7 separate regions of the Homo sapiens genome follow, and all the other regions are linked to region 1. Evidence: promoter capture Hi-C in 16 types of primary human blood cells and fetal thymus (Javierre and others, 2016). All regions are on one chromosome and are shown on one strand. Each heading gives the region's core, a stretch centred on a gene start or on the middle of the fragment in contact. The rest is flanking DNA. Distances are from core to core; before and after follow the strand shown. Region 1 holds the start of COX11 (cytochrome c oxidase copper chaperone COX11). Region 2 overlaps SMIM36 (small integral membrane protein 36). Region 3 overlaps MMD (monocyte to macrophage differentiation associated). Region 4 has its middle 55 kb from the start of MMD. Region 5 has its middle 77 kb from the start of HLF. Region 6 overlaps HLF (HLF transcription factor, PAR bZIP family member). Region 7 overlaps HLF (HLF transcription factor, PAR bZIP family member).

What was found. Contacts are between HindIII fragments. The CHiCAGO score rates a contact against its expected background, and 5 or more counts as called.
Region 2: a fragment that was not itself captured here is called in contact with the fragment with the promoter of COX11 in region 1 in 1 of 17 cell types (activated CD4 T cells); the score reaches 6.9 in activated CD4 T cells.
Region 3: a contact is called between a fragment that was not itself captured here and the fragment with the promoter of COX11 in region 1, in 10 of 17 cell types (total CD4 T cells, naive CD8 T cells, activated CD4 T cells and 7 more). The highest score is 10.5, in total CD4 T cells.
Region 4: a fragment that was not itself captured here is called in contact with the fragment with the promoter of COX11 in region 1 in 8 of 17 cell types (total CD8 T cells, fetal thymus, non-activated CD4 T cells and 5 more); the score reaches 9.1 in total CD8 T cells.
Region 5: a fragment that was not itself captured here is called in contact with the fragment with the promoter of COX11 in region 1 in 4 of 17 cell types (activated CD4 T cells, fetal thymus, erythroblasts and 1 more); the score reaches 6.3 in activated CD4 T cells.
Region 6: a fragment that was not itself captured here is called in contact with the fragment with the promoter of COX11 in region 1 in 3 of 17 cell types (total CD4 T cells, activated CD4 T cells and total CD8 T cells); the score reaches 7.2 in total CD4 T cells.
Region 7: a fragment that was not itself captured here is called in contact with the fragment with the promoter of COX11 in region 1 in 9 of 17 cell types (total CD4 T cells, total B cells, naive CD4 T cells and 6 more); the score reaches 10.0 in total CD4 T cells.

Annotation. Positions count from the first base shown.
Region 1 is chr17:54,966,499-54,970,220 of GRCh38, forward strand. COX11 (cytochrome c oxidase copper chaperone COX11) reads right to left here and starts at 2,156. Exons shown (of 4, transcript NM_004375.5): 1 at 1,783-2,156. The coding sequence starts at 2,148. STXBP4 (syntaxin binding protein 4) reads left to right here and starts at 2,267. Exons shown (of 18, transcript NM_178509.6): 1 at 2,267-2,317. RefSeq lists enhancers at 1,226-2,175, 2,025-2,084, 2,095-2,174, 2,176-3,124, 2,355-2,454 and 1 more. The HindIII fragment of the contact is 10,915 bases long and covers 1-2,416 here.
Region 2 is chr17:55,448,819-55,452,540 of GRCh38, forward strand. SMIM36 (small integral membrane protein 36) reads right to left here. Exons shown (of 5, transcript NM_001395421.2): 5 at 1,038-1,480. Among named protein-coding and RNA genes, the nearest start is that of MMD, 29 kb to the left of the region's middle. The HindIII fragment of the contact is 7,338 bases long and covers 1-3,722 here.
Region 3 is chr17:55,405,525-55,409,246 of GRCh38, forward strand. It overlaps MMD (monocyte to macrophage differentiation associated), which reads right to left. Exons shown (of 7, transcript NM_012329.3): 4 at 2,222-2,296. Among named protein-coding and RNA genes, the nearest start is that of MMD, 14 kb to the right of the region's middle. The HindIII fragment of the contact is 648 bases long and covers 1,825-2,472 here.
Region 4 is chr17:55,364,834-55,368,555 of GRCh38, forward strand. No RefSeq gene overlaps it. Among named protein-coding and RNA genes, the nearest start is that of MMD, 55 kb to the right of the region's middle. The HindIII fragment of the contact is 1,827 bases long and covers 849-2,675 here.
Region 5 is chr17:55,340,392-55,344,113 of GRCh38, forward strand. No RefSeq gene overlaps it. Among named protein-coding and RNA genes, the nearest start is that of HLF, 77 kb to the left of the region's middle. RefSeq lists a silencer at 1,109-1,328. The HindIII fragment of the contact is 2,130 bases long and covers 1,022-3,151 here.
Region 6 is chr17:55,307,970-55,311,691 of GRCh38, forward strand. All of the region lies in intron 2 of HLF (HLF transcription factor, PAR bZIP family member), which reads left to right. Among named protein-coding and RNA genes, the nearest start is that of HLF, 45 kb to the left of the region's middle. The HindIII fragment of the contact is 1,022 bases long and covers 1,220-2,241 here.
Region 7 is chr17:55,290,909-55,294,630 of GRCh38, forward strand. All of the region lies in intron 2 of HLF (HLF transcription factor, PAR bZIP family member), which reads left to right. Among named protein-coding and RNA genes, the nearest start is that of HLF, 28 kb to the left of the region's middle. The HindIII fragment of the contact is 3,456 bases long and covers 1-3,293 here.

The DNA of each region.
Region 1 (3,722 bases), core at 906-3,405:
GGTGAGGCAGTGCTTTGTTGGTTATTTAGTAGCATTCCTAGCCTCTACCTATTAGATGCCAGTAGCACCCTATACCCCCACCTCCATGTTGTGACAACCAAAAATGTCTTCACACATCGCTAAATGTTCCCTGAGGGGCAAAAATCTCCTGGCGGTCTGAGAAGGATCTAGATTTGCTGATTTGGATTCAGTTCTGCTTATGATTTAACCAACTGGTAGTTTTAGAATTCATGCTTGGGCTTGGTCTCTGATGAAAAGTAATTCACATTCTATACTCATCCTCAAAATCAACTATTGCACATTCCCACATAAATGCTGGCATTAGGAGACTATGCCAGAAAAGAAAAGTCCTTTTGTCTTCTGCTTCATCATCTAAAAGAAAGGTAAATTGATTTCCACGGGCATGGTGGCTCACGCCTGTAATCCCAGCACTTTGGGAGGCCAAGGCAGGAGGGTCACTTGAGCCCAGGAGTTGAGACCAGCCTGAGCAACATAGGGAGACCTCGTCTCTACAAATTTAAATAAATAAACGTGCGCGCGCGCGCACACACACACACACACACACACACACACACGGAAAGAGTGAACTCCAGCTAAGAATACCAGTCATGGTGTTAAAAAAACAATTCCCAAACTTTCCTGCACGCTGGAATCACCTAAAACATACTTGACAATTACTGATGCCTGGTTCCCACTGTGGCCTTGTGATAAAATGGGTAATGTGTGTGGATTTTTAGAAGCTGTCCAGGTGATTCCCAATGTTGCTGTACAATGAATTTTGGGAGCCACTATCTTAAACACTTACTGAATCACTTGTGGCATGATTTTTAAACCGAAATTCCTGTCCCTACCCTAGACTTCCTAACCAGAATCTCTGGGGTAGGGGATCCCTGGAACGTGTATTTAACGTTAAGCTCCATAGGTGATCCTAATGGCCAGCCAAAGCTGCAAATTATTAGCTAAGAACAAAGGAGAAATCTCTAAAATACGTGAAACTTGTCTTTGCCTGTGGTTCTCAAAACTTGCCCTCAAAATCAACTACAGGACTTAACTAAAATATAGAGTGCTGGTCCCACTCCCCTTCTTCTCCCCGCCCCACCCCCCCACCCCGTGTTTCTGACTCAGTCCTGGAGTCGGGCCCTAGAATTTGCACTTTTAACAGGTTCCCGGGTGATGCTGATGCTGCCGGTCCTGGGCGCCACACTCCCAGAACCGTTGCAATGTACTTAACAGTTTCCAGGTTAAGTACATTACAGTTATATATTAACAGGGGTGGGGCGAGAGAGCCTCAAAGGCCTAATTCATGCCTCTTTGTACGGAGGAACTGCTAATCCCAGTTTAAGCCCAAGAAACACGAGTAGTCCAATTTCCAGAGTTACCCTTGGCACATAAACCACATGTGGTTTGCAGAGTGAATGTATGAATAATACATTTTAAAAGCGTGTGTGCGCAGGAGGGTAAGGCAGACTGCTAGATACCCGGTTAGAGGCTGCGGACCTTTTTTTTTTTTTTTGGCGAGGTGCAGTTCATAGATCAGGGGTTTCACTCTGCAGCATGGTATAAGCACAATCACTAAGAACTGGATGCTACTTGCAGTTTTGTCACCAATTTCTTTGGTGACTTTGGGTGTTAAGTGACTGTTTTGAACCTCTCTCCTCTTAGGTAGATAATATCGGAAACCTCTTCCACCTACGACCCGCAGAGCGAGGGCTTGTCCCGGGATTTGTCTTGCACCCCCACCTCTCGCGTCTGCGCCACCCTGCGGGCGGCGCCGGCCCCTACCTGGCAATAGAGCCGATAAAGGGGTACGGCAGCGTAGGACGCCCCCAGCATGCCCACGGCGACAGCGGCCACGTAAGTGAGGGTCGTCTTGTTCTGCCGCCGCCGCTCCTCCTCCTGCGCGCGTGTGAAAGGGTTCGAGCTCTTAGGCCGCCGCGGCGGCTGCAATGCTGGATGCCGGGCTCGAAGGCTGCAGCGCTTCCATGTCCCAAGCCACCTCAGTCCTCTCTCGGCACCTCCTGTCCCACTCCACTCTGGCCTAAGAAACGGCTCTACCCTCTCTGCAGCCCTGGTTGGAGACCCAGGGTGGATCCAGCGCCAGCCACAGAAAGGAACGCACCTCCATCCAGGACGCCAGAGCCCTCCCATAACCCTCTGAACTAACACCCACCCGCCTCTCAGGGACGAGAGGTCAAATCTCGCGAGGCGTGCTCCGTCTCGCGAGATCTGGGTTGAGCCTGCCGCTGCCTTGGCTACCAGGCTCCTCAGGTGGCAGCGCTTGCAGTCGGGCTACGGAGGCCGGGTTGCCAGATTACGGGTAAGTTTGCGTTTTGCTTTGTGACTGTTACTCCCACTTCGCTTCTCGCCAGAACGTCTCTTAACATTTAGGAAAATGCGTTTCGCCCGTCCGCGTGCAAGCTTGCCATCACTTGGGGTTGCGCCTGTGATCTTTATTTAAACTCCACCAGCCTTTGTCTCGACCCGGCAGCCCCGGCGACGCTCTCCCGCGGTCTTTTCTCCTGGGGTCCCTTGGCCGCTGGCTCCTGTGCTCACTGCCCTGGACTTAGTTCAAGTATCACCTCTCTCAGGAAGCCTTGCTGTGTTAACCGCAGCCCTCATGGGCACCCACGACACCTGCATTTTCTCAGCCCGTGGGCAGTCGGCTTCCCCTGCTCTGATGCCCCTTACAACTTGCCCAGTGGAAAGCACCACAGCTGGAGCAGGAGGGAGGCTGTCACGCTGAAGTTTGTTCTGGAGAGAGTGACCAGGATAGGAGGGCCATTTAAGGAGAGACTGAAAGAAACGAACCCCGTGGGAGGATGTAATAGCTTTCTTCAGTTGTCCCACAGGACGAACTCGAGGGGGGCAGACAGCATAGCGGATTTTACTGTGTTAGAAGGAAGCATCTTTCTAGAAACTATAAAATAGCAGTTAAGAGCTCAGGTTCTGAGGTTAGGGGGTTCTGGATTTTTACCCGGGTCCTCACCATGGCCCTGTGCCCTTAGGTCAGTTACTTGTCCTCTAAGACCTGGTGTCCTTACTTGTAAAATGGAAATCAGAACAGTAAATGAATAATATTCATATAACGTCTTTCATGATGACTGAGGCATAGTAAGAATGTAGTTAAAAGTTAGGCTGTATTTCTACTTGCTACGTGGCCATTTCTAATGGCCAGAGCAGGTATAATTATCCCCACTATGTGGATGAGGAACTTGGAGGCCTGAGAAATTTTAACTAGTCATTCGACATTTTATTTATTTATTGCCCTCTCAACTGTGGGCCTGACACCAATCGACCTGCTGGCACTATAGCACAGAACAAGTCGGGAGATCACTTCAGTGATGGAGTGTCCTTTCTGCTGAGGGACTCAGAAAATAATCAAGTAACAGTTACCGAAATAAGGGAATTTCAGATAACAATCAGTGCAGTGAAGACAATGTAATAACATAGTATGATTGACAGTCATGAGAAGCGGTAGTAAAGTAAGGACGTTTTGAAGAGGTGACATTTGAGTTTAGATCTGAACGATGATAAGGAGCTACCTACTCAATAACAATTCCAGGCCAAGCAAAGGCCCAGGGGAAGGAAAGAGATAGAATGATTGAAGAACAGAAAGAAGGCCACTGTGTTCCCAACATAGCAGAGTGGAAAGTGGTAGGAAATGGGGTCAGAACAGGTAACAAAGGCCTGGTAATACCAGCCTTTTAAGCCATGTCCAAGGG
Region 2 (3,722 bases), core at 534-3,033, 480 kb after region 1:
GTTGCTAAGCCTAAGAATATTTGCTGGCTGAAGGATCTGTTAACTTTTTCCAAAACGGTAATAGTGCTTACTGCAGAGATAGCGATCTTTGAAACTTGACCCTCCTTATTGCAAAAGCCCCAAGTGTTCAGATCTGGGCCATCAGGACTGGAAAATGAAGATGTTTTACCTCACTTCATCCTTTTCTTCTTCTAGGGCAGCTACTTCATGCCAATATGCAGTAGGATAGGGCAAAAGGTTGTGTTTTTCTTCTGTAACTTAAAGGAAATAATGTATTTCAAAGGATCCTGAGAAAGACCATATTTATTCTTGAATTCTTGTGGAATGTAAGTGGTATAAGGGCTTCTGGGGAAGCCAACTGTAGTAAGTCCCTCTCTTTAGAAAGCAAATGTCTAGACAGCTGGAGGGACCTGTCTATCCAGGGTCATAAACAAGTTGGTTTAGAGTAGGGACTAAAATCTTGATCACTTTACATCTAGCTAAGTATGTTCTTTTGTGCCTTACAGATCAACTGGTGTAAAGCTGATTTTCCAAACTTCGAGTTTTAAGGGAAATGGATAGGATACTCTTTTTTAAAATTATTTTTATTATTTTATGACAGAGTCTTGCTCTGACGCCCAGGCTGGAGTGCAGTGGCGCAATCTAGGCTCACTGCAACCTCCACCTCCCCAGTTCAAGTGATTCTCGTGCTTCGGCCTCCCAAATAGCTGGGACTACAGAATCATGCTGCCACGCCCAGCTCATTTTTTTGTATCTTTAGTAGAGAGGGGGTTTCGCCATGTTGGCTAGGCTGGCCTGGAACTCCTGACATCAAGTGACCTGCCCGCCTTGGTCTCCCAAAATGCTGGGATTACAGGAGTGAGGCACTGCGCCTGGCCCAGGATACTCTTACTAAAGGGTTTCTGGAAGTTTCTTTTGGGAGCAGCACTCATTGAGTAACCGTCTACTCTGTGCAAAGCCCAATATTGAGCACTATGAAGGAGAAATGAAAGAAACAAAAGTCATGGAATAGGGACCCTGGAAAAAGGAAAAATGGATACCTGAAAATATTATGCGGGTTTATTTGGGTTGGGGTGATCACTGATAGATAGATGCAATGGATTGAAGGATGATCCCCCAAAAGACACGCCCATGTCCTTATCTCCAGAAACTGTGACTATTATTTTATGTTGTAAAATATTGAACATGACTTTATATGACATAAGATATGATTAAGTTAAATCTTGACAGTAGGAGTTTTTCCTGGAGTACCCAGATGGACCCTAAATGCAATCACAAGTATGAAGAGAGGCAGGAGAAGTTTTGAGAGAGAAGAAGAGGCAGCAGTATGACCAGGTAGGTTAAGATTTCAGTGATGTGATCACAAGCCAAGGAACTCCTGGAACCACCAAAAGGTAGAAGAGGCAAGCAATAGATTTTCTCCTGCAGCCTTCGGAGGGAGTACAGCCCCTCTGACACCTTGATTTCATACTCCTGGCTTCTAGAATATGAAAGAAAAAAAATTTCTGTTGTTTTAAGACACTCATTGTGTGCTAAATTGTTACAGCAGTCAAGTGAAAACTAACAGCATATCTAATCTTTGACCTTTTACATTTCCTCGTTGCTTTCTCTCAAGGGGTGTGGGGCAAATTCCTTATTCTTTTCTATCTAGTTCTGCTGCCATCAGAAGCATAGAACATGGATCTCACAGTGTTGCAAGTAGATCACTTAGTCTCCTTTGGTTTCATTTCACAGAGAACATGGTGGAGGCTCAGAGAAGTGAAGCGACTTGCCCACATTTACACAGTTGCTGAGTGTGAGCCCAGACGTGGAACCCGGGTGCAATACCCAGATAGTACTCCTTGCTTTCTGCTTACAGCCTAGAGAGAGGGAACTTGCAGCTGAGTTAGGAGACAGAGGCTCACAAGCACAAGGCAATACTGGCAGAGCGTAGACAACAGGTTTAGGCACCCGTGAGTCTACACAGTAACACTGGAGAGTCCACCAACTTTACCTCCAAGAAGACATCTCTAATCTGCCCACTTCTTTCCATCTCCTTTGCCAGCAACTCTCTGCTTAAAGATCCATAGTGGCTTCTTTTTTTTTTGAGACGGAGTCTCGCTCTGTCACCGAGGCTGAAGTGCAGTGGCACGATCATGGCTCACTGCAACCTCCGCCTCCCGAGTTCAAGCAATTCTCCTGCCTCAGCCTCTTGAGTAGCTGGAATTACAGGCATGCGCCACCACGCCTGGCTAATTTTTGTATTTTTAGTAGATATGGGGTTTCACCATGTTGGTCAGGCTGGTCTCGAACTCCTGACCTCATAATCCGCTCTCCTCAGCCTCCCAAAGTGCTGGGATTACAGGTGTGAGCCACTGTGCCCAGCCCCTAATGGCTTCTTATCATCCATAGACTAAGACCCTAATTCCAGATGGTGGCATAACAGGACCCTATATGATCCAATACTCGCACCTTCTCCAACCTCATTTTCTACCAGTGTCTCCATCCATCACCCTCCTTCAGCACCTCCAGCTGGCTGACCTTGGGTTGCCCTTGAAGCAGGCCAAGATCTTTCTTGTCTTTGTGTCTTTGCACTTGCTCTTGTCTGCCTGGAATACTTTCCCCATGGCTCTTCCTGTGGCTGACTTATGTTTTATCTTCAAGTTCCAGCTCACATAGCTCCCCACAGAGGCTTTGAAGTGGCTGTTTCCTCCATATGTTTCTTATCACAGGCTGAAACAGTCTTGTTTATTTGTTGAGTGTCTTCTCTTGTCACTAGATTAAAAATGCTATGAAAATTCTTGAGAAAGATACACCCTCTTTGTACCTGGCACAGTGCCTGACAGTGTAGGTACTTAATAAATATCTGTTGAATGAATGAATTTACCAGTTTTCCTAAACTGGGCTACCTAAGGAATTTACTATATATTTCCTGCACAAAAGATTTAAGACTCTTTCTTTCCTCCTGAACAATGCATATCAAAGTCTCTGAAAAATTCTAAAGAAAACTAAATTTAGACTGTATGCAGGGGCTGATGCCTGTAATCCTAGCATTTTGGGAGGCCAAGGCAGGAGGACCACTTGAGGCCAGGAGTTCGAGACCAGTCTGGGCAGCATAGTGAGACCTTGTCGCCACAAAAAATAAAAAGATTTTAAAAATTAGACAGGCAAGGTGGTGGGTGCCCTCAGCAACTTGGGAGGCTGAGGAGGGAGGATCACTTGAGCCCAGGAGTTTGAGGCTGCAGTAAGCTATGATTGGGCCACTGTACTCCAGCCTGGGTGACAGCATAAGACTCAATCTCTACAAAAAAAAAAAAAAAAAAAAAAGGAAACACTTTTAATAAGCCTGGCATATTTGACCCACATATGGTTTTAATAAGCCCAAGTGTATTTGGCCATACATCCTATTGTTCAGGAGTTTGTGTAAATGTTCCTGAATATAGATGTTCCCCAGAACAGTTAGAGAACTCTTGGTGTAGAAACTGGTAACAGCTGAATCCAGTTAAATCACCAGTTCATTTGAAAATATCCAGTTGACTCCAGGCAGCAGTATGTGTGTATACACACAGTTTCGTGTATATAAACAGCAGAGTGAAGTTGCTAACAGAGCTGGGGTAGTGATAGTGATAGGGGAGGAAAACTCATAGGGCTGGAGAGGTGGGGGATTATGACCTCGGCCATGGATTTCAAATTCTGTCTGGAGGTAACTTAGAGTGGAGCAAGTTCTCAGCTTCTCAAGGGGA
Region 3 (3,722 bases), core at 899-3,398, 440 kb after region 1:
ACTCCTCAGCTCACATTTAAATTAATTTTATTCATTTACTTATTTTAAATTAAAGAATTTAAAATAACTAAGTAAGGAATCCTGTTTGGAACACCCTGTAGGTTCCTACTGAAATAAGCATTGTTCTGGGCATTTAATGTCCATTCATAAAAGCCTTTCAGTGTTCTTCTTCCAACATGAAGCCGACCTATAATTTAGTCAGATGCTGGGCAAAGATAGCACTTACTTTTTACTCCTTCAGATAATCAGGTTTCTTTTGAATCATTGATGCTGCATTAGTCAGAATCTAGAGGCATACTGTTTCTAATGACTACAATAGATGATTGCAAAATATAAGCTTCTGAGTTTTTAAAACTGGATTATGTCTTGTAGAAGAAAGCTAATGTTTCTTTAATTAAGAGTTTCAAAGCAACAAAAGATTATATTTGATCAGCACCAAAAAGGCAGAAAGATCAAAGGCAATGAACAGGATACTAGGTATTTTAAATGGTTCTCTTACTCAGCAAAAGAAATGATAAACACACTTGCTATATAGTAGCTACTGCACTTGAGGTGAATTGAAGACAAATGGCTTAAGTTTCAAAAACAGGCTGGGTGCGGTGGCTCACGCCTGTAATCCCAGCACTTTGGGAGGCTGAGGTGGGCAGATCACTTGAGGTCAGGAGTTTGAGACCAGCCTGGGTAACATGGCGAAACCTCGTCTCTACTAAAAATAGAAAAACTAGCCAGGCATGGTGGCACATGCCTGTAGCCCCAGCTACTCAAAGGCTGAGACAGGAGAATCACTTGAAACTGGGAGGCAGAGGTTGCAGTGAGCTGAGATCACACCTCTGTACCCCAGGCTTGGTGACAGAGTGAGACTCTGTCTCAAAAAACCAACAAACAAAGAAGCCAGATGTGGTGGCAGGCACCTATAATCCCAGCTACTCGAGAGGCTGAGGCAGGAGAATCGCTTGAACCTGGGAGGTGGAGGTTGCATGAGCTGAGACCACGGGCCACTGCCACTGTACTCCAGCCTGGGCAACATAGTGAGACTCTGTCTCAAAACAAACAAACAAACAAACAAACAAAAATGGCCAAGCATGGTGGCTCATGACTGTAATCCCAACACTTTGGGAGGCAGAGGCGGGCAGATCACTTGGGGTCGGAGTTCGATACCAACCTGGTATCGACAACATGGTGAAACCCTATCTCCACCAAAAAATACAAAAATTAGCTCGGTGTGGTGGCACACGCCTGTAGTCCCAGCTACTTGGGAGAAAGAGGTGGGAGAATCACTTGAATCTGAGAGGTGGAGGTTGCAGTGAGCTGCATGGCCAACACAGTGAAATCCCGTCTCCCCCCAAAAATACAAAAATTAGCTGGGTGTGGTGGCACATGTCTGTAGTCCCAGCTACTTGGGAGAATGAGGTGTGAGAATCACTTGAACCCAGGAGGCAGAGATTGTAGTGAGCTGAGATCACGCCACTGCATTCCAGCCTGGGAGACAGAGTGAGACCCTGTCTCAAAAAATAAAAAAATAGGCCGGGCACGGTGGCTCACGCCTGTAATCCCAGCACTTTGGGAGATCAAGGTGGGCAGATCACTTGAGGTCAGGAGTTCCTGACCAGCCTGGCCAACATGGTGAAACCCCGTCTCTACTAAAAATACAAAAATTAGCCAGGCATGGTAGCACGTGCCTGTAATCCCAGTTACTCAGGAGGCTGAGGCAGGAGAATCTCTTAAACTCGGGAGGCAGAGGTTGCAGTGAGCCGAGATTGTGAGACTCCATCTCAAAATAAATAAATAAATAAATAAATAAATAAATAAATAAATAAATAAATAAGCTTGCTTTCCTCATACATATTTACAGCATTTCCACTTGAATAATTCAATTTTCTAGTGTTCTGAACAATAGCAGAGGTATAGGGAAACAATATGGAGAGCAAAGGTTACAGATTTCAAGAGTGAGCAAGCTATCTGCACACAAGTTCATAGCACTTCTTGAACAATCCAATACCCAGATATTATAAACAGCAGCAATATTCTCCCCTTCAAATATGCAATCTGACCCAAGTACATCAAATGGGGAAAAAAATGCATGCATGTATGTGTTCAGGAGGAGGGAAGGTGGTGTACACATGAGGGCTGAGGGTGGGGACAAGAGGGAGAAAGGAAAGGAGGAGTGAGGAATTCTAATCATAAAATCACTACCTTCGAAAATAGGAAGACTGTATCTTACCATGGAGCATAAGAAGCAGCAATGAAGAAATAGATAACCATTCTATCACACATGTGAAAACAATGCTCCACTGTCCTAGCGAGGGGGAAAAAAAAGTAAATTTGTCAGAAAGTGTTCAGATGGGAAGTACGGGTTATCACTCCACTATGTTGCAATTTCCATTCTTGTTCTAGTTCTCATGGCCTTTACACTTGTTCTTCCAAGGTTACACAGATTTTTGTTGCTGTTAATGTTATGAAGTCACGAGTAAAAGCTTTCTGTTATTTTTTAGGTTGCACATACAATAGATTCTCTCAGCATATATAAGACATAGGGACAGGGCCCCATGATAGTTAGAAAGCCTGAAGTGGTTAAAGCAAACAAACAAAATCTGTCTTTTTCTGATGTTTTCCATTTCTTTTGGATCCCCTCTAACAGAAAAATGAAGTTCCTGGAGGGCAGACCACCTCCCCGCAACCTGCCCCAGCTCCTATCAGTGCAGGGCAAAGTCCTGATGTTCAGTAAACACTCCCTGAGCTGAAATCACATTCTTTGTGTCTTTTTAGAAGGTATTTACAGTTTTTACTTCAAATATCCTGGTGTGGACAGTAAATAGTAATAAAGGAAATTCAGAAACTAACTTAGGAAAAACAGTAACAAAAACAAAAAATGGCACATTTACTACAAAAGCATAGCCACCTGTATTTCTAAGCAAGTTCCTCCTTCCAAAACTGAAAAGTCAGAGGTATATGTACAAAGAGTTTGGTTCACTGAGGTCTATTCATAAAATGGATTAGATGGAATTTGCCCTTTACTGAGGTAATTTAAAAGTACAAATTTGTAATATCATCTTGAATCTATTTTCAGTGTCCAAGTAGGTATAACTATAATTTGAGGGAACGCTAGTATTAGACTTTCCTCCCCCTACACGTAACATTGACCAAAGCAAATAATAAAGACTTGTGTGAGTAAGTGAAAAAACATACCCCATAAAGCCTGGGCATGGTGGCTCACAGCAATAATCACAGCACTTTGGGAGGCTGAGGCAGGTGGATCACTTGAGGTCAGGAATTTGAGACCAGCCTGGCCAACACAGTGAAACACTGTCTCTACTAAAAATACAAAAATTAGCCAGGTGTGGTGGCGCACGCCTGTAGTCCAAGCTACTCGGATGGCTGAAGCACAAGAATCACTTGAACCCAGGAGGCGGAGGTGGCAGTGAGCTGAGATCGCACCACTGCACTACAGTCTGGGCAACAGAGTGATAGTCTGTCTCAAAAAAAACAAAAATGTATTCCATAAATATATATACCTACCGTGTATCCACAAAAATTAAAAATAAAAAAAAAGTTTTAAAGGAATGAAAAATACATTTGTGAGAAAGAATGGGTTTCAGTCTACTAGTCATCAGAAGCTATAGCATACCCATAGATGATACTTTATGCCATAGGTCTAAAGAAGCAAACATTACGTCAATGCTTTTCAAACTTGACTGCATATCATCCCCTGGGGAGCTTACAAA
Region 4 (3,722 bases), core at 512-3,011, 400 kb after region 1:
TAAGAGGATGCCTTAGTCCATTCAGGCTGCTGTAACACAACACCATGAACTGAGTGGCTTATAAACAGCAGACATTTATTTCTCATAATTCTAGAGGCTGGGAAATCCAAGATCAAGATGCCAACAGATTCAGTGTCTGTAGAGGCCCATTCCTCATAGATGGCACTGTCTTGCTGGGTCCTCAGGTGGTAGAAAGGACAGACAAGCTCCTCAGGCCTCTGTTGTAAGTATCCTCATCCCATGCATGAAGGCTCTGCTCTCATGATCTAATCACCTTCCAAAGGCTCCAGCTCTTAATACTATCTTTCCAGCCAGGTGTGGCGGCTCACTCCTGTAATCCCAACACTTTGGGAGGCCTACGAGGGTAGATCATGAAGTCAGGAGTTTGAGACCAGCCTGGCCAATATGGTGAAACCTGGTCTCTACTAAAAATACAAAAATTGGCTGGACACAGTGGTGTGCACCTGTATTCCCACCTACTCGGGAGGCTGAGGCAGGAGAATCACTTGAACCTGGGAAGGGGAGGTTGCAGTGAGCAAGACTGCATCAGTGCACTCCAGCCTGGGTGATAGAGCGAGACTACATCTCAAAAGAACAAAAGCAAAAACAAAAACAACTATCTTTCCTTGGGGGTTAGGATATCAACATATGAATTCGGGGGGAAAACAAACATTCAGACCATAACAGAGGGCACACAATTAGCTTGGATTTCAACTAAGGCCTGGAGGTATAGGTAATATTTAGAGAAGTGTTTACAGATAAAGGTGAGTTTGCTGATCACTTGGTAGGTTCTCCGTGGCCGAGTGGTAGAGGTTAGGAAGGAGGTATGGAACAGGCTTAGTTAGATAAGCTTTTTTCAAAAACAGCACAGCATACCTGGTCATTTGGTAAATAATATAACATTTGTTAACGAGATACATTTATATGTATATAAAATAATCTCCTTCAACTCCTTAATAAAATAGCTACAGAGACTCTCATGGGCCTCTGATTTTATTTTTGGCATTTTTAATGGTTTCCTTTGTTCTTTTATACGTCTTGGGCCCTCGTTGGTGGAATTTGTGGCTTCGATTCTGTTCAGCCCACCTTGAAAACAAACCATTAATAAATACATTTGGGCCTCCTTTTGTGCCTCGCAGAAACAAACAAACAAAATGTCTATTTCATTAGCACACCAGGATCTGGGGAAGGGTGAATTCTCTGGAAAGAAAAGTACAGGAGGACTAGGAGAGATGTCAGGCATGTCCCACAAATTCAATTTATTCTTCTTTCCAGACCACATCTAAATCAAAGCAGCTGTACTTGATAAGCCTCTCTGGTTAAGATGCTGAAAGTGATATTCAGATTAAAGGTAATGTGAGGAAGACTTTCTGTCTCAGGTGGAGAAGGGTTTTGTTCGGGAAAAAACAGCAGGCAAATCAAAGAAAGTACTGAGGCTCCCAAAGAAAATGAGAACAGAAGAGGGTGAGAGAGAAAATGGCTTAAATGAACAAAAGAAAGATTGTGCTTGTCTACCCAGGTCTGGCTGTGCTCATCAATTGAATCAGAACTGTGGCTGGCCATCTGCTGCTCTGAATACATGACAACAAGCCACTTGCAATGACCCAGCTTTTGACTGCTTTAGCAATGGCATTTCTTGAGATCAAAGAGACCCAGCTCATCCCAGGAAACACTTGGAGCCATTCACTGTGACCTTATTTTAAAGATATTATATTGTAAATTTAATGAAATAATATATCCAGCCTGTCTAGCATATAGGAAGGCTATTTTCCTTCTCCTTCCATTGCTACAAAAACACAGTGAAACAATGGACAATACACATTGTCCTCAGTAATTGGGTTTCTCCCCCTCTGAATTATAAAATTACTATTACAATAGTACTGAAATTATTATTGCTATTTTCAGTGCTTTAAATCACTCTTTTGCATGGGGTGGAATTTCATGTGAATGGAGTCTTTCTTTGGCCCCTATCCCATAAGGTTTAATTAGGGAAGTAGACTCACCTGGAAGCTGGTCTCATAGCAATAATGATAATTACCTTTATTGAGATGCTATTCTGGGTAGATCAGGCACCATGCTCCACATACATTATCACCATTTTCCAGCAAGTCTGTGAGAAAGGTATCAGTGTTCCAATTTTATAGATGAAGAAATTGAAGCTCTGGGGTTTCTGCTATTTGGTCAAGCCTATTTTATTCATAATCAAATTTAGAAATAAAGGCTTTGTTGAACTTCTTCTGTATCATTGATGAAACAGCTAACCATTGATTCAAATCTTCTGAAGGATCTTGAAGCCCTATGAAACTGTTACCTAAACCTTGGTCACTGTGATCAAACACAAGAGGCAGATGGGTAAAAACGACAAGTGGAAATTCATGCCTATCTTCTTTTTCTTGAACACTAATGATTTTGATCAAAACAGAGCTTCACTACAGGAATCTGTCCTGGGGTTTGTTTCCTTCTCATACTGCACTGATTCTCTGGGCAATCTCTCTCATGCTTAGGGCCAACTAAATTCTGATGACTTTCAAATCTTTAATTATAGTGTGATCTGTTTCCTGAGTTCCAGATCCATAGATATACAATTACTCTTGAGAGATCGCCTCCTAGGAGTTCCAAAGGGACCTCAAACTCAATATATCCCAAACTAAACCTATCCTACTCTTTCCCAAATAAGCTTCTCCTCTTTTTAGTCCCTGTCTACTCAGATAGTCAGAGCAGGAACCTGGAAGTCTTCATAGACTTCTCCCTCTCTTGATATATCCGATTTGTCACCAAGTATTATAAGGAAAGGTTTTCAGGGTGAGGTATCCAAACTACCACCAGCAGCGGCAGTGTCTGGAAACTAGTTAGTAATGAAAATGTTTAGGACCCCACCCGATTTCTCCTAAATCAGACTCTCTGGGGGTGAGGCCAGGGAATCTGCATCTTAAGCCCTCCAGGGAATCTGATGCATGCTCTAATTGTCCTTATCTTTCTCTAATTATCCCATTCCTAAAGCTCCTGTTTTAAGGCAGGCCCTCATTATCTTATGCCTAAACTATTACAATCATTTCCCAACTAGCGTTCCTTTCTCTAGCCTTAGATCGCACCAATCTATCCTCTTTCCTACCAGAACGTTCTCTCTGAAATGAAAATTGGATCATGTCTCTGTCCTACATAAACTCCTTCACTGTTCTCCCAAATAAGGGAGAAATATAATGTGGACCACATATGTAATATTTAATAGAAATATAATGTGGACCAAATATGTAATATTATGTGGCTACTAGAAAACTTAAAAAGTAAAAAGAAATGTCAAATTAACATTAAAATGTATATTATTGAACCCAATGTATCAAAAATATTATTTCAACCTGTAACGAATACAAAAATCATTAATATTTCATGCCAGATGTTTGAAATCTGGGGTATATTTCTTCACTTACAGCCCACCTCAATTCAGATGTTATACTTTCACTGAAATGATTTGTCTTTAGATTTCATAACTGACAGAGTTGATGTACTTATCCAGGTTGCTCCAAACATACTTAAAAGTTTTCTGGCCAGCCACGGTGGCTTACGCCTATACTCCCAGCATTTTGGGAGGCCAAGGTGGGTGGATCACTTGAGCCCAGGAGTTTGAGACCAGTCTGGGCAACATAGCGGGACCCTATCCCAAGCGTGGTGACACACCACTGCACTCCAGCCTTGGTGACAGAGTGAGACCCTATCTCAAAAAT
Region 5 (3,722 bases), core at 837-3,336, 370 kb after region 1:
ACAGCTGCTCTGGCAACCAGTGTTTCCAAGAAGAGCCACCAAGCATGCGGAGCCTCTGCTGAGAGAGCTAGGTCAACATCCCCTCATGGAAAAGCCATCCCAGCATGTTTCTTTAGAACTAGCAAGGAGGGCCAAGGCAGACTCCAGGGTTCTTCACCAGCCTAAGATGCCTTGGGAAGCAATTGCCAGTGGTTCCATCAACAGCTTCCTTTGAAAATTCAGACCCTTCAACCTGTTCAGTGCCAACTATGCATTCCTGGTTGCACCCCCAAACTCTTGCTACATGCATATGGGTGCATGCGTGCACACACAGGGACACACACATGCACACACGGACACACCTCCTCTTGGACTGTTGAAAAGGCTGGGTTTATATAATAAAACTTCCTCTGCCACATAGACAAAAATAACCCTGGCATCCCTTTCTGGATGGATTTTAATTAGGAAAGACACAGCATTTAAATTATGCTTATTACTTTCAGTTGCTTGTACAGGCTGTGGATTTCGGAAAAGGCAATGGGAATCATGTGAGCTGGATTTCTCTAACAGGATGACTCTGAGAGGGAAAAATTGCCAAGGGCATTTTAAATCTTTCTCCTCTTCTAGACAGCCTGGCTGAGGAAAAAGGTCCATGTTCTAACATCATTATCACTAACATCTCTGAGTGCCTACTCCATGCCAGAACCCTGGGTAACAAGCATTTTATTTATTTGTTCATTTTTTTTTTTTTTTTTGAGACAGAGTCTCGCTCTGTCACCCAGGCTGGAGTGCAGTGGCACGATCTCAGCTCACTGCAAGCCCCACCTCCCGAGTTCAGGTAATTCTCCTGCCTCAGCCTCCTGAGTAGCTGGGATTACAAGCCTGTGCCACCTCCTCTGGCTAATTTTTGTATTTTTAGTAGAGACAGGGTTTTGCAATGTCGGCCAGACTGGTCTCGAACTCCTGGCCTCAAGTAATCTGCCCACCGTGGCCTCCCAAAGTGCTGAGATTACAAGCGTGAGCCACCTCACCTGGCCTAACAAGCTTTTTAAATGCCTTACCTTAATTAGCCTCAAGAATTCGAGTTTGACCAATAGACCCCATTGGGGACTATCCCTTTCTAGGGGATTCCAGGGACATACCCTTATTATGAATCAGGGGGTTCCTCCCTGAAGCTACAATAGTGACTGGCTGCTAACAGCATGTATGCAATGAATTGATGTATTAGGTTGGTGCGAAAGTAATTGTGGTTTTTGCCTTTGAAAGTAATAGCAAAAACCGCGATTACTTTTGCACCAACCTATACAAGCAAATGAATGACTGAATGTGGTGGGTGTGCTCAGAATGAATCAGATGCAGAAGAATTCTGTGTGGGAATAGAGTTCTAGCCACAGACCTTGCTGCCGGGAGTACTAGATAGATAGTATATGACTCCATTCTCCAATGAGTGGCTTTTTGGGGAGATTTAAAACTTGGAAGAACATAGAAAATTTCTCTCCCCTGCTTCTCTCTCCCAAATCTTTATAGGCATCTTAATGAGGATAAACTTTCAGGCCACAACTATGATTTTAGGCAATTATTTAGCCCATCTGGCTTTCCATTTCTTCTGCGGCTATAACACCAATATCTACCACAGAGAGTTTTCTAACAATGATTAAAGATCCAATATGTAGGCCGGGCGTGGTGGCTCACGCCTGTAATCCCAGCATTTTGGGAGGCCGAGGTGGGTGGATCACGAGGTCAGGAGATCAAGACCATCCTGGCTAACATGGTGAAACCCCATCTCTACTAAAAATACAAAAAATTAGCTGGGCGTGATGGTGGGCGCCTGTAGTCCCAGCTACTCGGGAGGCTGAGGCAGGAGAATGGCGTGAAACCGGGAGGCAGAGCTTGCAGTGAGCCGAGATTGCACCACTGCACTCCAGCCTAGGCGACAGAGCGAGACTCCGTCTCCAAAAAAAAAAGATCCAATATGTAGCTAAGCAGACCTTCTTCCCCATTTTATTGCTAAAGAATTTGGGGCTCAGGTATATTAAATGACCTTTAGCATACTTACTCACTTGATCATTCAACAACTTATTGATGATCTGTTATGCTTACACCCTATTCTAGATGCTCTAGTGATTGGGACAGTCGATGAGGGGAACAGGGAAGGCATGTAACAAACTAACAAAATAATTTCAAATTACAATAAATAAATACCATGAAAAGAGTAAAAGAAAGCAGAATAAAAAAGCTGTGATGGAGTAAGTGGGGAAGCTCTAGATGAAATGATCAGAAAAGACCTCTTTAAAAAGAAGAAAAAACAGTTATCTTTGAAACTAAGCCCTGACTTGTAAGAGGAAGGAGCCATGCCTAGGTCTTGGGGGAATATAGTTCAGTCAACAAAAACTGCAGATGCAAAAGTCCTGAGGCAGAAATGACATTCCTGTGATGAAGGGACAGACAGAAGGTCAGAGAGCTTAGACAGTGAGGAGAGGGGTTCAGGATAGGGCTAGAGAGGTAGGCAGACGTCGGAATATGGAAGGTATTACAGGATTAGTCGAGGAGTTTGGATTTCATCCTAAGTGCAGCAAAACTATTTGAAAATTTTTAGCAGGGGAGTGGCATGCTCTGATTTACATTTTAAAAAGATCCCTCTGGCTGCCATATGGAGAATAAATTATGATGAGGTATACATGGAAGTTAAGTGAAGGCAGAGGTGATGGTAGCCAGGACTACGGGGTAGCAACACATGGAAAGGCTTGGACCCAGGGCACATGTAAGGAAACCAGGACTAGAACCCAGACCTCTATAGCATCTGCCTCTCTGGCCTGCCATGTGCCATATAAATATTCTTGCTTTTCTTTTTTTAAATAAATTTCCCATTTAACAATGCTTTCTGCAGAGCCATAAGTTCACTGGAAACTGCTCAAATTGACACTCAAGCAAGAATAGCATGCCTGTGTGATAATAATGCATTCATCAGCATTCCTGAGTCCACTCCAGGAGTGCTGGATGCGAAAGGGGCCCAAGAGAGTCCCCCCAACAAGGGCAGGAAAAGGAATGTTGGTAGGACTCCAGGGCTAATAGAAGGTGTGGGGCTTCTCATCCCAGAAGGAGGAGGTCTGAGGAATACATACTCGGGGTTATATCCAGAAAGGAAGAGGCCCATTCCCACTTAAGTTCAACAAGCTTGCTAGCAGCACAAGGAGAGAGGCCATGGCTGGAGGGTCGTGGAGAAAGGAGTTCGGTGGGAGCCTGGGCCTTCAGATTGACTGAGAGGGAAAGCGCCCTCTACTTTTTAAACTTGCAAGGAAACTCTTAAAAACTCCTCTCTTTTCAGCAGTTTGTGACTTTCATGTGAGGAGGAGAAGTTACAAACATTTCCAGGTATTCTGTTCCTCAAATGCCCTGTGTTTCTCCATCATTGTATTTTGGACATCTTATTTTAAGGCTTTTTTTGTTTTGTTTTTGTGGATCTGTCTCCTCCATGGGAGAGTGGCTTCCTTGGAAGGTGTCTTCATTACTTTTGCATCCTTGGGCCACATCAAAGGACCTAGCATACAGTTGGCAGTCAAAAACTTGCTCAACAGTTAGATGTATGATATCCCTAAATGTACAGAACCAAAGAATCATCCTAAATTAGATTATAAGGCTGAGTGCAGTGGCTCTCGCCTGTAATCCCAGCATTTTGGGAGGCCAAGGCTGGTGAATCACTTGAGGCCAGGAGTTTGACACCAGCCTGGCCAACAAGGCCAAAA
Region 6 (3,722 bases), core at 481-2,980, 340 kb after region 1:
AAGAATGCTTTAGGTAGAGAGGAAACTAAATACAAAGGCCTGGGTGGGATCACATTCAGGGGACGCAAGGAGCAGAAGGAAGGCCAGTGTGGCCAAGTGTGTGAGTGAGGTAGAGCCGTGGATCTGATCATATGTGGCAATGGGAAGCCTTGGGAGGGTTTGATATGGAGATGTGACCCACACGGGTCTGCATGTTTAGAATTATCACAGTGTACCGCTGTGGAGACGTGGGAGATAGAAAAGGGATAATGGTTAAAAGTTGCAGTAGTTCAGAGGACAGACAGTGCTGGCTTAGACAAGGGGAATAGTCTGTTTATTTGATTTACTTTCAAGTATCTCTGAACTATTATCTGTATTTTGTATATGTGTTTATATAGAGACCATTTATTGCACACTTTCCGGGTACTACAGATTGTGCTAAGCACTTTGTATGTATTATCTAGTTCATTTTTCACATAGAATCAGGCATAGTAATCTCCTTTTACACATAAGGGAATTGAAACTCAGGTAGGTTAAGAAAAGAAGGGGGAAAAAGTCAACGATAGTCCCTTTCCCCAATACAGACCTTATTAGGATTTAGAGGGGCATTTTTTGGGGGTCATTTATTTACAAAGGCCCAAGTTTATAACATACAGGTGACAGAATCAGCATTCAGACCCAGGTCTGACTCACTTCACAGCGTAAAACGACTGTCCTGTACAAATTTAAATCCTGCTATAATGTTATTGTGGGTGTAAACACTCTCCCCCTATGCAATAACTCAGCTTATAGGTCAGTCTCCATTGCAATGAGAATGTTTACCAGACAATCACAGAAACTCACCGTACACAAATAAAGGCTTATTGTTCACTCATCTGTAATTGCTATGGGTTGCTCAGGTGGCTCTGCTGATCTTGGCCGGACTCACATATCTAGAGTTCAGGTGATTTAAGCTGACCTAGGCTGGCCTCTTCTTTCATTTTCCAGCAGGCTAGACTGGGCATGTTTATGGTAATGACAGAAGTGCTACAGAAAAGGGGCAGAAACATGCAAAGCCTCTTTAGGCCCAGCCTCAGAACTAACACTATCATTTCTGCCACATTCTGTTGGCCAGTGCAAGTCAGAGACCAGCCCAGATGCAAGAGGTAGGGAAATAGGCTCTGCCTGGAAGTGCAGGTCCCATGGAATAGGACATGAATGGGTTAGGAATGAGCCTTTGGCCATCAGGACGTTAGTGTTAAGCTTTTGCAGAAAGGACTTGTTGGACAAATAACAGATTCCTGCTGCGGGAATGGAGACCAGCTAATATGGCCTGAGTCCCGAAAGCCCATATCCTTAGGCTGTATTTGTGAGGTTTTAATTTAATCTTTGTATATATCGTGAGCACTCTTCGTTGACCTTATAGTGTTGCTATCATCTCCTAAGTTGATTGGCTCCCTGAATGTAAAAGGATTTTCAGAGGCAGGCATGGTTTGTAGCAAAGTCAGCTGTAATCCCTGATGATGGTATCATCATCGAGGGATGCCAAGAGGGTAAAAGCACTATTTCAGATTATGGCTACGTGGGATCCAGGAAGTCATGACAAGTGAACAGACCCTAAACTGGTGATGAGGAGGAGGGCAGAGGTGAGCAGGAGGGAAAGATTCGGCACCAAACTTTGAATCACTAGGAGTTTCACTCATCAGCTCTAAAGGAAACCCTTTGGCCAAAATAAAAATTGTCTTCTCTTTCCTCAGCCTTAATTGATAGAGGATAATGTTATCAGCTGGCTAATGCTCATCAGTGATCAACATTAGACTACTGTGTTTTGACGTTACTGCTGCAAATCTCCTGCTTTATTAACTGCCTGAATGAGGAGCACATCAGAAAGATTGGAGGTGTTGCAATTAGCCTTTAGGATGAAATAATAAGTAACACTATAATTTGTGACTTTGATGCAGACATCAATTTAAAACATAAACCACTGACTAGAGAAGAGATAAAGACAGAGTGCTGCTGTTCCCCTTCATTGATGGCTGCTTGCTAATGAGCTAATTGAACACAAGCTGCTAAATTCTTGCTAAAATACGAAAGAATATGAAATATCCTGTTTCCAGTTATACTATTTGGAGGTTTAGCCTTGCCTAATCTGTGACAAAAGTAGAGGCCAACTTTGGGTTTGAAGGTAACTTCTATTCTTTTTCCAGATTTCTTTAAGCCCTTTGTTCCACCCTTTCCTCCAGAAACCCTCCTTGGTTCTTCTGGAAGTGACTTTCAGCAAGAAGCTTTTAGAAAGAAAAACAAAAAAAACGAAAAACAATGTTCCAGTAACTGCAGAGGCTACATGATGGGGTTGATCTTGTCCACTATGGATCTTTTAAATAAAGCTTTGGAAATACCAAGCTCAGACTTAACAAATACAGGAGAAAAAATGGCATGATTATCTCAATAAATAAATATCAAAAGGCATTTAAGAGAACTTAATACATTATTTCTGGTTTTAAAAATTATTAGTAAAACAAGGTTGGAAGAATTGGAACTGCCTTACTTTGTCAAGTTGTATCTACTAAGATACTAGAACAAGCCTTTATATTGAAGGATCTGAAGAATTAAAAGCATATTCCTTTAAAGTCTGGGACAAGCAGTGATCATTAGTCTCAGTCTCTCTTTCTTCTCATTGTCTTGCAGAAACCGGCTAATGCAGTGAGACTGAAAATTATTAAAAAGAAAGTAGGAATTATAAACATAGAAAGGATGCCACCTCTGTCTATAGAGGCAGAAGATGAGATTGTTCACCTAAAAACTAAGAGATGTTAGAACTGTTAGAACTATTAGAACTAATAAGAAAGTAAAGTGGCTGGATATAAACCAGTAACTTTTAAAACCAGTAGCTTCCTATATAGCAGCAGTAACCGCTTAGGAAATATAATAGGGTAATATACCCTAGTAACAACTCTTATAATACATTTAAGGAATAAACTGAAATGTGAAAGGCTAAAATAAAGAAAACTATAAAACTAAACTGATACATGTTTTTAAAAAAGCCCACAAAAAATAAAAATGGAGAGCATACTGTGGGTGTATTCAATATTTTAAAGATAGTTGTCCTCAAATTTACCTGTGAAATTGTAATTCAAAAATGCCAAATATTATTATATTTAAAACGGTAACTTTAAATATAACTTAACTAATGTATTCTGAAGTTTACCTAGAAGAGTATATGTATAAAAGTACCTTAGAAAATTTTCTAAAAAGAACAAATAACCAATAAACATGCAAGATGTTCAGTGTCACCAGTAACAAGGGAAATGGAAATTATAACAATAGTAAGACCAGCCTGGCCAACATGGTGAAACCCTCTACTAAGAGTAGTCTCTACTAAAAAATACAAAACAATTTTAGTCTCTACTTAAAATACAAAAAAAAATTAGCCGGGCGTGGTGGCGGGCGCCTGTAGACCCAGCTACTCGGGAGGCTGAGGCAGGAGAATGGCTTGAATCCAGGGGGTGGAGGTTGCAGTGAGCCAAGATCACGCCACTGCACTCCAGCCTGGGTGACAGAGCGAGAGTCTGTCTCAAAGAAAAAAAAACAAAAACAAAACAATAGTAATAGTTGTGCATATCAGATTGCCAACATTTAAAAAATCATATTGTGTGACACGTGCACTCTTACAAATGGTGGTGCAAGTGTAAATAGCTATGACATTTTTTGGAGCACAGTTTGGCAGTAGGTTTTTAAAATTTATTATTATTTTTAATTTTAGA
Region 7 (3,722 bases), core at 316-2,815, 320 kb after region 1:
TGCTGATATGAAGAAAGTTTGAGTGTCCTGGATAGAAGATTAAACCATCCACAACATTCCCTTAAGCCAAAGCCTAATCCAGAGCCAGGGCCTAACTCTCTTCAATTCTGTGAAGGCTGAGAGAGGTAAGGAAGCTACAGAAGAAAGGTTTGAGCTAGCAGAGGTTGGTTCATGAGGTTTAAGGAAAGAAGCCATCTCTATAACAAAAAGGTGCAAGGTGAAGCACCAAGAAATGATGTAGACACTGCAGCAAATTTTCCAAAAGATCTAGCTAAGATCATTGATGAAGGTGGCTATACTAAACAACAGAGTTTCAATATAGACTACACAGCCTTATATTGGAAGAAGACACCATGTAAAAGTTATAGCTGGAGATAAATCCATGCCTGGCATCGAAGGACAGGCTGACTTTTGTTAGTGGGCAATGTAGTGGGTGACTTTAAGTTGAAGCCAGTGCTCATTCACTGTTCCAAAAATCCTAGGGTCTTTGAGAATTATACTAAATCTACTCTTCCTGTGCTCTGTAAATGGAACAGCAAAGCCTGGATAACAGCACATCTGTTTACAGCATGGTTTGCTGAATATTTTGAGCCCACTGTTAAGACCTACTGCTCAGGAAAAAAAATCCTTTCAAAATATTACTGCTTATTGGCAGTGTACCTGTTATCCAAAAACTCTGATGGAGATGTACAAGAAGATTAATGTTATTTTCATGCCTGCTAACACATTTATTCTTCAGCCTATGGATCAAGGAATAATTTTGACTGTCAAATCTCATTACTTAAGAAATTTACTTTTTAAGACAATAGCTGCCATTGATAGTGATTCCTTTGATAGATCTAGGCAAAGTAAATCAAAAGCCTTCTGAAAGGATTCACCACTCTAGAAGCCGTTAAAAACATTCATGATTCATGGGAAGGGACATTAATTAACTCCAACATAAACTGAAGTTAGTAGGAGTTGATTGCAACCCTTATAGTGGATGACTTTGAGGACTTCAAGGTTTCAGTGGAGGAAATAACTTTAGATGTGGCGGAAATAGCAAGAGATCTAGAATTAGAAGTAGAACTTGAAGATGTGACTGAATTGCTGCAATCTCATGATAAAACTTGAATGGATGAGGAATTGTTTCTTGCAGATGAACAAAGGAAGTGCTTTCCTGAGATGGAATCTACTCCTAGTGATGATGCTGTGAACATTGTTGAAATGCCAGCAAAGGATTTAGAATATTACATAAACTTAGTTGGTATAGCAGTGGCAGGGTTTGAGAGGATCGACTCCAATTTTGAAAGAGGTTCTACTGTGAGTAAAATGCTATCAAATAACACCGCGTGCTACAGAAAAATGTTTCCTGAAAGGAAGAGTCAATTGATGCAGCAAACTTCATTGTCGTGTTATTTTAAGAAACTGCCACAACCACCCCAACCTTCAGCAAACACCACCCTGATCGATTAGTAGCCACCAACATTAAGGCAAGACCCATCATAAGTAAAAATGGCCCACTAAAGGCTCAGGTGATCTTTACCATTGTTTAGCAATATAGTATTCTTAAGGCATGTACATTGTTTTTAGTCATAATGGTATTACACACTTAATAGATTACAGTATAGCATAAACATAAATTTTATATGCACTGGGAAACCAAAAAAAAAATGATGTGACTTGCTTTATTGGATTCTTAGCTTTATTGCAGTGGTCTAGAACCGGTCCTGCAATATCTGTGAGGTATGCCTTTATATCCAAAGGAATAGAAATCAGTCTTTCAAAGAGATACCGGCATTCCATGTTTATTGCAGCACTATTCACAGTAGCCAAGGAATGGAATCAACCTAAGTGTCCATCAGTGGGTGAATGGACAAAGAAAATATGGCATACATACACAATGGAATACTATTCCACCATAAAAAAGAATGAAATTCTATCACTTGCAGCAACATAGATGGAATTGGAGGTCATTTATGTTAAGTGAAATAAGCCATTCACAGGAAGACAAATATTGTATGTTCTTATTCAAATTGGGAGCTAAAAAGGTTGATCTCATGGAGGTAGACAGTAGAATGATGGTTACCAGAGGCTGGGAAGGTTAGCGGGGGCTGGGATGTGGGATTTAGAGAGGTTAGTTAAGAGGTACAAAAACACAGACGAAATAAGTTCAAGTGTTCAATAGCTACAGTAGGGTGACTATAGTTAACAAGGATTTATTGTATATTTCAGAATACATAGAAGATTTGAAATGGTCCCTTCACAAAGAAATGATCAATGATCCCAGTTACTCTGATTTGATCATTACACATTATATGCATGTATCAAAATATCCCATGTACTATATTAATATATACATTTTTTTAATTAAGATTTGAGGTGCTATATGTGCCTGAGGAGTTATAGGGGATGCCGGTGGAACGACCATTACATGTGGCAGCTGGACTGGGCAACGGCCGATCGCCACTGTGCTCTGAGGAGAGAAGGCAGAGCTTCCCCCTTTATCTGCTGGCTGGTGAAGTCCTGAGAACCGGGCAGTCAGCTAAGCACCAAGTTTTCTCTGACTACAGAGCTCCTATCAAACGGATGGGTAGAAAAGGAATGTTGTCATAATAGCTAACCCTTCTTTAGTGCTTCTTATAGTCTGGGCACTGGACTGAGGTTTATATGTGTTATATCATTAAAACTCAATCTCTGGGAACGACTGTTAGTACTTGGTAGGTATACTATTATTATTGTCGTTTTACAGATGAGAAAACTGAGGCCCAGAGAAAGTGAGCAAAATGGTGCTGGGGGCGATTAATAGGTGGCAGGGCTGGAACATGAAGCCACAGTCTGGCACCAAAGCCCATTCATGGAGCCCCAACTCAATGGGCTGCTTCTCAGTAGAAGGCTTTGCCTTGTGGAAGGTAGTAGAATGTCTAAAATCATCAGAACACCTGTGTGGATGGTACAACACGGTGACAGATATGTACCAGGGACCTAGATGTGGAGGGAGTGAGGAGGAAAGGAGCAACATATGCACCTCTGGGGAGGCCCTAAGGTCTCCTCAGCCAATTCCTAGGGAATTTAATTTTAAAGGACACAGAGAGGGTAGTTTTTAACACAGGTTTTACTTTTAAGTCATGAGGGATGACTTTCTAAGCCACAGTTCCTTCTGATAACGGTCTTAAAAGAGAAGCACCATGAAGTGATAAACACATCAGTCCAGGAAGATTTAGAGACAGCCTAGTAGAGGAGGATTGGAAACAGTGTGGCTGTGTCCCTGAGGGTGCTGGTGCTAAACCCACGGCACAGTCCATATCAGTCAAAGCTTCATTCTCCTTGTGCCCACACTATGCTGATCTGCCCCAGTGCAACAGGGAGACGCATATGGTCAAGAGAATGTGTCTTTCACGAATAGATTTTCTCCTTCGACCATGGTGAGAAGTCCTTGTAAAGAAGCATACATGAATATATGGATGTGTTGGGCATCAGCTGTGCGTGTGGCCCTCAGCCAGGTGAGTGGAGGAAGTTGGAGGCATTCAGTGTTCACCTCCATGTGCTTTTCAGAGACATACCTGGTGAGCTGTCTGCAGATACACAGCGTAGTGGGAGAGATACGCACGTGAAAGCAGCACAGGGCATGTAGCTAGCACTTGGTAAATATTAGTTTCCTTCCCCTTTCTGTGTGTAAGGCAAGTTGTACGAGCAAAGCATCCGCAGCTCAGAATGCAAAAATAGATCTCCATGTGGGGATG